3 separate regions of the Homo sapiens genome follow, and regions 1 and 3 are each linked to region 2. Evidence: promoter capture Hi-C in human tissues and cell types (Jung and others, 2019). All regions are on one chromosome and are shown on one strand. Each heading gives the region's core, a stretch centred on a gene start or on the middle of the fragment in contact. The rest is flanking DNA. Distances are from core to core; before and after follow the strand shown. Region 1 overlaps ACOXL (acyl-CoA oxidase like). Region 2 holds the start of MERTK (MER proto-oncogene, tyrosine kinase). Region 3 overlaps BUB1 (BUB1 mitotic checkpoint serine/threonine kinase).

Evidence for each region. Contacts are between HindIII fragments. The study calls those that stand out against the background at their distance.
Region 1: a contact is called between a fragment that was not itself captured here and the fragment with the promoter of MERTK in region 2, in 1 of the 25 tissues and cell types used here (spleen).
Region 3: a fragment that was not itself captured here is called in contact with the fragment with the promoter of MERTK in region 2 in 1 of the 25 tissues and cell types used here (aorta).

The regions. Positions count from the first base shown.
Region 1 is chr2:110,867,296-110,869,995 of GRCh38, forward strand. All of the region lies in intron 10 of ACOXL (acyl-CoA oxidase like), which reads left to right. Among named protein-coding and RNA genes, the nearest start is that of ACOXL, 140 kb to the left of the region's middle. RefSeq lists enhancers at 1-307, 1,792-2,402. The HindIII fragment of the contact is 3,359 bases long and covers 1-2,700 here.
Region 2 is chr2:111,897,357-111,900,088 of GRCh38, forward strand. It overlaps MERTK (MER proto-oncogene, tyrosine kinase), which reads left to right and starts at 1,251. Exons shown (of 19, transcript NM_006343.3): 1 at 1,251-1,440. The coding sequence starts at 1,380. RefSeq lists an enhancer at 390-719. The HindIII fragment of the contact is 10,682 bases long and covers 1-2,732 here.
Region 3 is chr2:110,642,906-110,645,605 of GRCh38, forward strand. The region is part of intron 19 of BUB1 (BUB1 mitotic checkpoint serine/threonine kinase); the gene reads right to left. Among named protein-coding and RNA genes, the nearest start is that of SNORD132, 14 kb to the right of the region's middle. The HindIII fragment of the contact is 4,918 bases long and covers 1-2,700 here.

The sequences.
Region 1 (2,700 bases), core at 87-2,586, 1.0 Mb before region 2:
CTGGAGGAAGAGGCCTGGGGGTGTGGTAATGGGTGTGCTGGAGACAAGAGGTTGAGGCAGGCACTGACTAGGGGCATAGATCCTTCTGCATCTCTCTGTGTCCATCCATCATTCTGTGCACACTTTGGCACTTCTGGAGAACTTGTTCTCTTCCAGACTCTGAAAGTCAGTGACTAATAAGATGTGGCCCCCTGATCACTGGCATCTGTAGACTGCTGAATGGTGTCTTGGATAAAGTATGTGCCCATTTATTTTTCTTGCATGATGAATAATCGGTCTGAAAGGAAACAAAGTCCTGTTTGGACAGGGCTCAGGAAGGTGAGAAGGTCTGGGTGGGGACTGGAGGGCCAATAAGGACTTCTTTTGAATTCCAGGTGTCAAAGGAGTCTTTGCGTTTTAGAAATTAGGAGATCAATATTAAATACCTTTTGGTGTGTAGCAAAAAGTTGACATGAAAAAGCAACTCAAAAATTGCTTTTTTTTTTGAGATGGAGTTTTGCTCTGTCACCCAAGCTGGAGTGCAGTGGCATGATCTCGGCTCACTGCAAGCTCTGCCTCTTGGGCTCACGCCATTCTCCTACCTCAGCCTCCCGAGTAGCTGGGATTACAGGTGCCCACCACCACGCTCAGCTAATTTTTGTATTTTTAGTAGAGACAGGGTTTAACCATCTTGGCTAGGCTGGTCTTGAACTCCTGACCTCGTGATCCACCCGCCTCAGCCTCCCAAAGTGCTGGGATTACAGGTGCAAGCCACCACGCCCGGCCAAAAATTGCTATTCTTGATAGAAATGCAGGGGAACTGATTTATTTACACTTGTATATTTTTTGCAGACTACATTTTTGTGTAACGAATTTCATGTAGTCAATGGAGAAAAGGTAGCTAAGCTTTGGAAACATCTCAAGTATAAATAAAGTGAGAACCACACTATGAAGCGAGTTTCTAAATGAAACTTACTTTACAAGTTTGATTTTTTGGGGCTGCTCTGTCTGGTGTTATCATTTTCCTTAATTCCTGCAGGGATTGTCATTTGTGGCACCAGAGTCTTTTCTCTGGATCTGGGTGCTCTGGTTTCTGGCTCAGGATTGGCTGATGCACCTTTTCTTCTTGGGAAAAGGAGCCTGCCATCAACAGTGCATGTGAGCAATTGATTCCTTTGGCAGGAACGCTCTTCTCTATCGACCCACGTGAATCTATTGGTTTTCAGATCACAACCAGCTGGCCTGGTCTTTGTTTTCCATTCTCTTCTTCTAGTACACACATCTTATTCATTTTTCTCAGCATTGCTCCACTAGAATTTCTTTTCTTTTTTCAAAACAGTGCCTCACTCTGTTTCCCAGGCTGGAGTGCACTGGTGCAACCCCAGCTCACTGCAGCCTCAACTTCCCAGGCTCAGGTGATTCTTTCACCTCAGCCTCCCGAGTAGCTGGTACTACAGCCATGTGCCACCATGCCCAGCTAAATGTTTTGTATTTTTAGTAGAGATGGGGTTTCACCATGTTGCCCAGGCTGGTCATGAATTCCTGGGCTCAAGTGATCCTCCCACCTCAGCCTCTCAATGTGTTGGGATTGCAGGCGTGAGCCACTGCTTCCAGCCTGGAGTTTCTTATGTTGCTAATATATAGGCAAGGCTGATGTATTTTCCAAAATGCTCCCTCTGGAAAATGCACCCTCATGTTCATGGGGGTGACATTGTGACAGTGGCAGCTAACATTTCTTGGGTGGTTGCCATGGTCCAGATGCTACTCTGAGCACCTTAACTACATTACTTACTTTTATCGTCACAATTCTGGGAGTAGGTACTGTTTGCCCTCTTTGTAGCTGAAGTGTCTGAAGCACAGAGAGGGTAGGCCACATGGCCGATGTCACACAGCTAGGAGATGGTAAGCTTCTCCCCTATTTGTGCTCTCACTCTCAACCCTGGGGCCCACCGGCATTGTGAATACTCAGCATTTCAAGTCTCATCCCTGGGGAAGGCTGTGTGTATTGTAAATCCCGTATCAATGCAGTCGTTGTTGGCATTGTTTAGGCATGTATCAGAGCCACACACACTTCCAGACTGTGTGTCAAAAGGTCCCAGAAAACTGCATTTCTGTGTTCTGTCACCCCAAAGGCCTTGCTGAGTATGTAGTTTCACCTTTTGTTTAACCTTCTGTTTGGAGGCTCACTGGCCACAATGGCAAATGTGTGGTGGGTGAGCTTCCTGGCGGGGATGTATTCTCTCCTGCTCCCAGGGGCACATGCCAGCACTCTCCAGCGCTGGGGCTCGCATCTCTTCCAGCAAGGCCAGGCCAGGCTCTGAGTGCATCTGTGTCATGCTGGAGTCCCTGCAAGCCCTGTGCTTGCCCAGGTGACCCTCCCCTTATTCATTGGCCACAAGAGGCAAAGTAGCCAGTGAGTCATTCGAGCCCATAGCATCTGTCTCCAGAGCCCACACCCTGAGCCACTGTGCTCTCTTGGCCCTCAGCCACCTTGGAGAGCTGCCACTGCCCCTTGCCGTCCTCCTGGCCACAGAAGACTCCTCCTCCAGAGGCAAGGCAGCTGGTGCCCCTTCCTGTGTGAACCTAGCCACTGCCAGCCCCTACCCAGATACCCTCCATTGTCAGATGGGCCTAACCTTCTAATCAAAGGTCTGGATGGGACTGCTCAGGGCCACCTTCAGGCAAGTGGCTTGTAATGGATTCACCGAGCATGTGGGTCTC
Region 2 (2,732 bases), core at 1-2,500:
TTGCTGTCGGTGTAAGTAATAACCTGTCTAAACCCATCTGGGCTGCCTGTCTCCTTCCCGTAGCCAAATCTACGGGAAGTGTCCAGCCAGTGTAGGGGTCAAGGGACCGCTTGACGAGACCAACGTAAATTGAAGAGGCGTAAGGAGATGAGGCCAAAGAGGAAAGGGGACCAGGTCACGTAGAACCTCGTAGACCACTGCAGAACCTTGGCTTACGTACGCAGAGACAGCAGGAACCACTGATAGGTTTAGGGAGATTTGAGGAGAGGGACATGATTTGGCTTATGTTATGTTGTTAAAGGGACCACATTAAAATACATTCATTCTAAAAGTGTTACCTTTAAGAAACTACGTATATAAATTAAGTTACTGTTGCCATTATTAGCGTAAGTAGTTACATTTCTCTTACGACTCACTCTCTGCTACTGCCTCTTGGACCCTGCACACCTTGTGGAGGCCCATGAGAGTGACGTGCTGTGGTTCCCCCTCTCCCCACTCCTGCTCTGCACTTTGTCATTCACGTTCATCTCCCTCCTTGAGTGTCACCTCTCTCTGGCTCGTCACGGAGCCACGGCAAAGCGTCCTTTCCCAGGAACCCCTCCCCCTGGGGAGGTGAGCTCCTCGCCGCCAGGGCCGTGTCGCGCACCTCGGGCCGGGTACCCAGGCGGCGCTCGGCGGCGAGCGGAATGGATGTGGAGGAGCGCTCGGCAGGGAGCGCTGCCGCCCTGGCCTTGGCCTCTGGGAGCGGCGCGGCCAGGGTTTTCTGTGTCAGCCAAGCCCGGAATGCGGGGGCGCCTCTGGACCCTCCTCTTGGGTCTGGGGGCTGCCTCGGGCATCCTCTACTCCTCTCCCACCTTCTGTCCTTCCCCATCTCCCACCCACACGTGTGGGGCCCCGGACCCGCGCAGCGGCCAGAGCCTTCCGCTGTGGACCTCCAGTCCACCCCTCCCCTTCACTTCTCTTTCCGGCTCCCTCCGGGTCTCTCAGCCCCCTCCCCTTCCTCTCCGCCCCCTTCCCCGCCGTCTGCCCAGCGGCGGCCTTCGGCCCGCCCCTTCTCTCCAACCCCCTCCCTTTCCCCTTTACGCCCCTCCTCCCCCTCGTCCTCCCGCCCCCTCCCACCCCAACCTGCTGGGCCCGCCGGGACTCGCCCCCCTGCCCGCTCCTCTCCTCCAGCCCCGGCCGGCCTCGGCTCGGCCCCCGGCCCGCCCCTTCCAGCCCTCGGCACCTCCCGCCGGCCGCTTGGCTCCGCCACTCGGCACTCACTGCCCGGGCCGCCCGGACAGGGAGCTTCGCTGGCGCGCTTGGCCGGCGACAGGACAGGTTCGGGACGTCCATCTGTCCATCCGTCCGGAGAGAAATTACAGATCCGCAGCCCCGGGATGGGGCCGGCCCCGCTGCCGCTGCTGCTGGGCCTCTTCCTCCCCGCGCTCTGGCGTAGAGGTGAGTGCGCCCGGCTGGGGGCCAGGCGAGGGGGTGGGGGCTCCCAGGAGGAAGCAGGGGCCTCTGGGGAGGGAGCGCGTCCACAGGGGCGCGCCTGGCTGCTGGACAAGTTTGCAAACACCCTCCACCCACTGCGGTGCCAGAGGAGGGGGCGTAGGCGAACCTACCGTCCACTGACCGCGGCGCCTCAAGCGTCCCGAGGGCACCCAGCCTGGCTTGCGGGTGCGCATCGTGGTGAAGCCGGGTCGGGGTCGGCGTTGCAGGCTCCCCTCTTCACCGCAGAGGAGGAAATCGAGCTCGGCCGGGCGCGCTGCAAGTCCTGAAGTTCCGACGAGTGGAACGTAGGTAGCAGGTCTGGTCTGGGATGCGACGAGAACTTTCCACTAGAGTTGCATGGTGGGGCCCCGCTCTGGCCGGAGTCCCGGGGGCCACAGATCCGGTCTCCCGAGGGACCGGCGCGGGGCGAACGAACGGGCTGCGGGAGTCGGAGCCGCAGTCCGGGAGCCGCGATAGACTGAGGCCGAGCGACGGGCCAGGGGGGGACGGCAGTCCTGGCTGCTCCCAATGGGCCCTTACGGGCATTATTAGTATCCCTTTTTAGGGGCACCCAGAGAGTGTGGGAAAAGGGGAGCGTTCTTTTCACTCCTGTTATGGCAGAACAGAACTTACAGTGCTCGGCAGCGTTTACGTTTATCTGGATTCAGCGAAGTGTTGTTACAGGCTTTTTTTTTTTTAATTTGAGACCGAGTCTCGCCCTGTCGCCCAGGCTGGAGTGCCGCGGCGCGATCTCGGCTCACTGCAGGCTCCGCCTCCCGGGTTCAAGCGATTCTCCTGCCTCAGCCTCCCGAGTAGCTGAGACTATAGACGCGCGCTACCACGTCCGGCTAATTTTTGTATTTTTAGTAGAGACGGGGTTTCACCATGTTGGCCAGGATGGTCTCGATCTCTTGACCTCGTGATCTGCTCTCCTTGGCCTCCCAAAGTTCTGGGATTACAGTCGTGAGCCACCGCGCCCGGCTTGTTCCAGGCATTTTAATACAAGATGCTGGACTGATACGTGGAGGCAAGGAAGGCCGGTTTCATTCTGCTTGAACAGCTTATTTGGGGAGTGAGTGATGAACAGATTTCAAGTTTGATCGCTGATGCACTTCTTGAGGAGGCTGGAATAAACTTACCAGGCTTTACCCAAAAGAAAAAGAAAGGGGAAAAATGCTAAATAAACACATTCCAAGTATTTTCTCTCAGCTAAAAGGTTTCTATTTCCATTCAGCATGTAGATTTTCTCTCTTTTG
Region 3 (2,700 bases), core at 13-2,512, 1.3 Mb before region 2:
TGTCTCAAATTCCTGGCTTCAAGTGATCCTCCTGCCTTGGCCTCCCAAAGTGTTGGGATTACAGGAGTGAGCTAACACACCTAGACTGTACTAGTAGATTTTTAAATTAAATTAAAAACAAGAATTCACATGTTCAAAATCAGATGTAAAGTAGTAGATTTCTGGTTCCTGGTCCAGCATATGAGGAGCTTGGAGTCATCACTCCACCCTCACAGTAAGCCAAATGGCTGAAAATCAACGACGCTTCTGAGATCCATTAGAGAACTGAGGTCAAAGGACAATCTGCTTCCTCCAAAATTAGAGACAGACAAGTGGACGCAGAGAATCACAGCTTGCCAAACTAGAAGCCCAGGAACAGAAACCACTGCTGGAACCAGTACTGGGGGAGTTATAATGTAAAGAACTGCACATCTGAGACCTTATTTAAAAAGTCCGTAGGGAAACCCAAAGATAACAGGGGAAACAAAAAAATAAGGACACATAGGGCAATTATAGCCTCTTATGTAGTGACAGCAAACAGTAAACACAGCCTAACCCATAGGCAGATTAAGCATGAAAGCTCACACTAAAGGTCTATTTAATCCCATTTCCTTTTAGCTCATATATTAGGTCTGGCTCTTAACAAAAACTCACAAGGCATAGTAAAAGACAAAAATCACAGCCTGAAGAGCCAGAGTAAGCATCAGAAACAGACACACATATGGCAGAGATTTTAGAATTATCAGACTAGGATTTTGTTGTTTGTGTTTTTAGAGATAGGTTCTCACTCTGTCACCCAGGCTAGAGTGCAGTAGCATGAACATAGCTCACTACAGCCTCAAACTCCTGGGCTCAAGTGATCATCCTACCTCAGCCTCCCAAAGTGGTGGGATTATAGGAATGAGCTACCATGCCAGGCCCACACTAGAAATTTTTTTTTTAATTCTAATTGACATGCTAAGGGTTCTAATGAAAAAGGTAGACAGTGTGCAAGAAGAAATGGGTAATACAGGCAGAGAGAAACTGAGAAGCAAAAAAAGGTGCTAGAAATAAAAACCCACTGTAACAGAAATAAAGAATGCCTTTGATTGACTCACCAATAGACTATACATGGCAGGGAAAAGAATCAGTGAGCTTGAAGATAGGCCAATAAAAACTTCCAAAACTGAAATGCAAAAAAAAAAAAAAAAAAAAAAATAGAAAGAAATAGATAGAATAGAGTATTTAAGGAATGTGGGACAACTACAAAATGTATAACAGATGTAGAATGGGAATACCAGAAGGAAGAAGGGAGAAAGGAACAGACAAAAATATCTGAGGCCGGGTGCAGCGGCTCACACCTGTAATCCCAGCACTTTGGGAGGCCATGATGGGCGGATCACTTGAGGTCAGGAGTTCAAGGCCAACATGATGAAACCCCATCTCTACAAAAAATACAAAAAATTAGCCGGGTATGGTGGTGGGCATCTGTAGTCCCAGCTACTCGGGAAGCTGAGGCAGTAGAATTGCTTAAACCCTGGAGGCGGAGGTTGCAGTGCACCAAGATTGTGCCACTGCACTGTAGCCTGGGCAAAAAAGAGCAAAACCCCGTCTCAAAAAAAAAAAAAAAAAAAATTGAAGTAATAATAGCAGAGAATTTTCCAAAATTAATGATAGACACCAAACCACAGATCCAGGAAGCTTAGAGAGCACCAAGCAGGATAAATACTGAAAAATCAACATCTAGGCATATCATATTCAAACTGCAGAAAAAGACACAGAGAAAATATTCAAAGAAGCAAGACAAAACCATCTTACCTATAGAGGAGCAAAGATAAGAATTACACAGGACTTCTCAGAAACCATGCAAGCAAGAAGAGAGTGGAGTGAAATATCTAAAGTACTTAGAAATTTGGAATCCACCAATCTAGAATTCTGTATCCAGTAAAATTATCCTTCAAATGTGAAGAATAAAAATTTTCTTACACAAGCAAAAAAGATTAGTTGTGATGTATATTGCAAACACTAGGTTAACCACTTAAAAAAATTTTAAAAGAAGTATAATTAATACACTGAGAGGAGACAAAATGGAATTATGAAAGAACTCAAAATCAGAGAAGGAAGAAAGAGAATAGCAGACAAAGAAAGAACAAGGGCAAGGAGTAGAAAACAAATATAGTGACAATCCAATTATATCAATAATCACTTTAAATATCAGTGGTCTAAATATACCAATCAAAACAAAGACATACTTTAAATACCAAGACAGATGAAAAGTAAAGGGATAAGCCCAGGTGCGGTGGCTCACACTTGTAATCTCAGCACTTTGGGAGGCCAAGGAAGGCGGATCACCTGAGGTCAGGAGTTTGAGACCAGCCTGACCAATATGGTGAAACCCTGTCTCCAAAAAAAATACAAAAATTAGCTGGGCGTGGTGGTGTGCGCCTGTAGTCCCAGCTACTCAGGAGGCTGAGACAGGAAAATCACTTGAACCTGGGAGGCGGAGGTGGCAATGAGCCAAGATCATAGTACTACGGCACTACACTCCAGCCTGGGTGATAGAGCGAGACTCCTTCTCAAAAAAAAAAAAAAGTAAAGGGATAGAAAAAGACATACCATGCTAACACTAATAAAAGAAAATGTAATAATAGCTATATTCATTTCTGACAGAGCAGACTTCAGAGCAAAACAATTATCAGCATAGAAAATGGCGTTACGTGTATGTGTGTGTGTGTGTGTGTG